2 separate regions of the Homo sapiens genome follow, and region 2 is linked to region 1. Evidence: promoter capture Hi-C in human tissues and cell types (Jung and others, 2019). All regions are on one chromosome and are shown on one strand. Each heading gives the region's core, a stretch centred on a gene start or on the middle of the fragment in contact. The rest is flanking DNA. Distances are from core to core; before and after follow the strand shown.

Evidence for each region. Contacts are between HindIII fragments. The study calls those that stand out against the background at their distance.
Region 2: a contact is called between a fragment that was not itself captured here and the fragment with the promoter of CBFA2T2 in region 1, in 1 of the 25 tissues and cell types used here (ovary).

The regions. Positions count from the first base shown.
Region 1 is chr20:33,488,672-33,491,371 of GRCh38, reverse strand. CBFA2T2 (CBFA2/RUNX1 partner transcriptional co-repressor 2) reads right to left here and starts at 1,276. Exons shown (of 11, transcript NM_001032999.3): 1 at 1,071-1,276. The coding sequence starts at 1,104. RefSeq lists silencers at 957-1,236, 1,247-1,466 and an enhancer at 1,561-2,109. The HindIII fragment of the contact is 17,917 bases long and covers 1-2,700 here.
Region 2 is chr20:33,525,001-33,527,700 of GRCh38, reverse strand. All of the region lies in intron 1 of CBFA2T2 (CBFA2/RUNX1 partner transcriptional co-repressor 2), which reads right to left. Among named protein-coding and RNA genes, the nearest start is that of CBFA2T2, 36 kb to the right of the region's middle. The HindIII fragment of the contact is 6,967 bases long and covers 1-2,700 here.

The DNA.
Region 1 (2,700 bases), core at 27-2,526:
AAACATGTTTATCTGTTTCCTCATTTACTATGTCTCTCCCTCTCCTAACTAAACTCAAAACCCCAGTTCGGTCTATCTTGTTTATTGTATTCCCAGGGCCTGGAATGGTATTTTTAAACTTACTATATGATTTAATAAATATTAAGTGAATAGAATGCAAAATGTCTGGTGCTCAAAAAAATGTTGGCTATTATAATTACAATAATGAAAAACAATTAAAATTTTATTGTTCTTATTCAGAGAAGCCACCCCTCCCCCAAGGATCTCACACATCAAGGAGGAACACTAGATAAATACTGGAATGGCTAAATGGAAGTAAGAATAACAATTAGATCATGGAGCAGGACTAACAGACAACAAAACAAAATCTTAACACGGCTAGAGCCTAATTTCGGACTTTTCCGAGTGCGGTGCACACTGGATCAGATTAATAAAGGACGATTACAATAATGACAGTTTTCACAATTGTGTGTGTGCCACGGTCGGTGTCAAGCGTTTTACTGGCCTCACAAAACCCAAGAACCCTGGGGGAGGGAGGGAACCCGCTCCACATCCCCATTTTGCAGATGGGGGAACTGAGGCACCGGGAGAGCCAAGGTCACTACCTAAATGGGGAAGCCTGGATGTGAACCCAGGTAGCCAACTACTGAGCCTGCGCTCAAACAGGCCCTCCGAGGGGCCATTCTCATCTCCTCCAACCCTCAACATCGGGCGGGTGTAGTATTTCCCCAGGAGCCGGACTTCGTGGCCCCAGCGCTGGGACAACAAAATGATTCTTGCCCGCCGGCAAGTCCCATGGACGCCGGCCCGGCCTAAGTTCCGAGGCCGCGGGCCCCACAATTTCCCTCACACCGTGAGCCCCGAGCTCTTCGGGCGGCGCAGGAAGCGACGGGGTGGCCTCAGGAGCCCGGGAAGGCCCGCCCCGCTGCGTGACCTTGGATCCGCCGCCCCGCTTCGGGCCTCAGTTTCCACTCCCGGCCTCGCGCCCGGGGCACTCGGAATCACCGCGCCTGCGGAGCCGCAGGCCCTCACACGCCCCCCTCGGCCGCCCGCATTCACGCCCCACTTACGCTGGAAGGCGGCCGCTCCAGGGACGCCTACCATCGCCGAGCGCCGCCGCCGCGCGCCGCCCGCCTCTACCCGCGACACGGGTCCCTCGCAGGCGCCGCCCGCCTCGACCCGCGGCCCGGGTCCCTCGCAGGCGTCGCCGCGAGATCTGCAGCCGCCGAGCTAACCAGACACCACCACCGCTGCTGTCGCCGTCGCCGCCGCCGCCGCCGCCGTTAGGCCGCGCCCCGCCCCGCCCCCGGCTGGCCCCGCCCCGCCCGCCGGGCACGCCCCCGCCGCGCGCTCTCGCCGCCAGGCCAACGCACGCGGAAGCCCGGCCCCAAGACCAGCTCCCATTAAGCACCGCCCCCTAACCTGACCCGCCCCTTCCGCGGGAACCGACCGCCGAATCCCGGCGCAGCCTGCTTCTCAGACCTGCCCCCTCGGCGTCACGCGCGCCCGTCACGCGCACGGCCCACTTTCTAGCTCCAGACTTCCCGGTGTAGCCAGGGCAGTGGCCCAGGCTCGGGGGCCGAGTGCTAGGGGGAGGGATTACAACGAGTGGCAACGTCTCACCTGAGTTCTCCAGGTACAGGCCTGATGGCTTTTGCGCATGCCTTTGAGCGAGCCCCCTGGCTCAAAGTGTTTTTGGCCTGAAGTATTCTAAATGCCTAAAATTTCATCATCGTAATTTTAATAACTGTTGGCCGGGCGTGGTGGCCCACGCCTGTAATCCTAGTACTTTGGGAGGCCAAAGGAGAGTCACTTGAGCTCAGGAGTTTGAGACTAGCGTCTCTATTAAAAAAATAAATAAATAAAAATAAAAAATAGACCAGGCACGGTGGCTCAGGCCTATAATCCTAACACTTTGGGAGGCCGAGGAGGGTGGATTACCTGAGGTCAGAACTTCGAGGCTAGTCTGGCCAATGTGGCGAAACGCTGTCTCTACTAAAAATACAAAACTTAGAGCCGGGCGCAGTGGCTCAAGCCTGTAATCCTAGCACTTTGGGAGGCCGAGGCGGGAGGATCACGAGGTCAGGAGTTTGAAGACCAGTCTGGCCTATAAGGTGAAACCCTATCTCTACTAAAAAAATAAATAAATAAAAATACAAAAATTAGCCTGGTGCGGTGGCGCGTGCCTTTAGTCCCAGCTACTCGGGAGGCTGGGGCAGGAGAATCACTTGAATCCGGGAGGGGGAGGTTGCAGTGAGCCGAGATCGGAGCCATTGCACTCCAGCCTGAGCAAAAAGAGCAAAACTCCGTATCAAAAAAACAAAACAAGGCCAGGAGCTGTGGCTCACCCCTGTAATCCCAGCACTTTGGGACGCCGAAGCTGGCAGATCACAGCTCAGGATTTGGAGACCAGCCTGACCAACGTGGTGAAACCCCGTCTGTACTAAAAATACAAAAATTAGCTGGACTTGGTTTCACAAGCCTGTAATCCCAGCTAATCAGGAGGCTGAGACAGGAGAATTGCTTGAACCCCGGAGGCGGAGGTTGCACCGAGCCAAGATCACGACACTGCACTCCCACCTGGGTGACAGAGCGAGACTCCCTCTCAAAAAACAAAACAAAACAAAACAAAAAAATTAGCTGGGCGCGGTGGCGGGTGTCCATAATCCCAGCTACTCGGGAGGCTGAGGCAGGAGAGTC
Region 2 (2,700 bases), core at 85-2,584, 36 kb before region 1:
AAAGAAAAGAAAAAACAATAAGACTTAGGGCTGGGTGAGGTGGCTCACTCCCATAATCCCAGCATTTTGGGAGCCTGAGACATGCAGATCATCTGAGGTCAGGAGTTTGAGACCAGCCTGGCCAACATGGCGAAACCCTGTCTCTACTAAAAATACAAAAATCAGTTGGACGTAGTGGCACGCATCTGTGATACCAGCTACTTGGGAGGCTGAGGCAGGAGAACTGCTTGAACCCGGAAGGCAGTGGTTGCAGTGGGCCAAGATCACGCCACTGCACTCCAACCCGGGCGACAGAACAAGAATTCATCTCAAAAAAAAAAAAAAAAAAAAAATCAGTCGGGCCTGGTGGCACAGCCCTGTAATCCCAGCTACTCAGGAGGCTGAGGCAGGAGAATCACTTGAACCTGGGAGGCAGAGGTTGCAGTGAGCCGGGACTACACCACTGCACTCCAGCCTGGGTGATGTAGTGAGACTCCATCTCAAAAAACAAACAAACAAAAATACACACACAAAATTAAGTGATATGTGATTTTAAAAAACTATAATTAAGAGATTAAGAAGAACAATACTTTTTAAAAAGGCTTCTGGGTTTACAAAACTTTACCAAATAGCTATTTCAGCATAGTCTTGTATTGTCTTTATAATGCAGCTGAGGACTGGAACAAAAGTCACTTACTGCCAATTCATCCTATAAACTTAGGAAACACTGGAATGATCACAAACCCAGATAACGACAGGTGTAGAGATCTGCTTAGACCATCATTCAAATGCACCCGAGTATGCTTGTGACTCTTACCCTAAATATTGCAATGCAAGCCAGGTGAGTAAGAGATAGAAGTAGGAGAACTTTCTGAGGCTTCCAACCACACAAACTGCTAACTTCCTCTCAGAGTTGTCTTCATAGAACACATGGAAATATAGCTTAAGATATATATTTCCCTTATTGTAATAAATCTACATTTTTTTTTTTGAAAATTTGGCCTTGCTGAACAAGATTGGAGTACCCACAATAACCTGTCAGTATCCTATAAAAAGCTAACTTATCATACTGAATTTGGGTGTTTGACAAACTTTTAGTTTTGCCATAAAATAAATGTATTCATTGCTGGGCGCAGTGAGAGAAATGAAAACGTGTCCACATAAAAACCAGTAAACAAATGTTTATAGTGGCTTTATTTATAATAGCCAAAAAGTGAAAACAGGTCACAAATCCATCAACTGATGAATGAATAAACAAAATGTGGTATAATAGATTATTTTTATTGCTACAAACGTTGAACTAGCAAATCCTGAACCTTTGCTCCTAGAGGAAAACACACGGTTAGGTTCCTGTGAGCCTCTAGTCACATTTTTGTCAGTAGATCATCAGTACACACCTTCTTTTTTATGTGTTTCTGATGAAAGACACCTTATTTATTTACTTATTTTAAATTTCAATAGCCTTAGGGATACAGTAGTTTTGGGTTACACAGATGAATTATATAGTGTTAACACCTTACTTAAAATATATGTAAGGCCAGGCGCGGTGGCTCACGCCTGTAATCCCAGCACTTTGGGAGGCCAAGGCGGGAGGATTCATTAACATGTCAAACAGCCTGAACAAAGCTTATTTAATATATTTTCCTCTAAAGTACAGCATAGCTTTCTAGCTCTTGGAAACAGGAGACAGCACTTCAGCATTATACTTGAAGGCCAATCACCAATAAAAAACACAAAGGCAAATCCATAGACAGAAAGTAGATTACGTGGCCAGGTGCAGTGGCTCACACCTGTAATTCCAACACTTTGGGAGGCCAAGGCACAAGGATCGCTTGAGCTCAGGAGTTTGAGTCCAGCCTGGGCAACAAAGTGAGACTTCATCTCTACAAATAATTTAAAAACTGGTCACAGGCATGGTGGCATGTGCCAGTGGTTCCAGCTACTTGGGAGGCTGTAGTGGGAGAATTGCTTGAGCCCAGGTGGTCGAGGCTGCGATGAGCTGTGACTGTACCACTGCACTCCAATCTGGGTGACAAAGTCAGACTCCATCTCAAGGGAAAAATAAAAAAGTAGATTAGGGACTGGGGAAAGGAAAAATAGACAGTAATTGTTAATGGGTATGGGGTTTCTTTTCGGAGTGATATAAATATTCACTGCACTGTGTGCAGTGATGGTTATAAAACCTTGTCAACATACTAAAAACTATTAAATTGTATACCTTAAAGAAGTAGGGTAGGGCCAGGTGCAGTGACTCACACCTGTAATCCCAGCACTTTGAGAGGCCAAGGCAGGAAGATCACCTGAGGTCGGGAGTTCGAGACCAGCCTGACCAACATGGAGAAACCCCATCTCTACTAAAAATACAAAATTAGCCGGGCATGGTGGCACATGCCTGGTAATCCCAGCTACTCAGGAGGCTGAGGCATAAGAATCACTTGAACCCAGGAGGCGGAGGTTGTGGTGAGCCGAGATTGTGCCATTGCACTCCAGCCTGGGCAACAAGAGCCAAACTCTGTCTCAAAAAAAAAAAAAAATGGAGGTAGGGTATGTGAATTATATCTCAACAAAGCCATTTACAAAAAAAGCGGCCGGGTGCACTGGCTTACGCCTGTAATCCCAGCACTCTGAGAGGCCAAGGCAGGTGGATCACTTGAGGTCAGGAGTTCAAGACCAGCCTGGACAACATGGTGAAATCTCTTCTCTATTAAAAAATACAAAAAT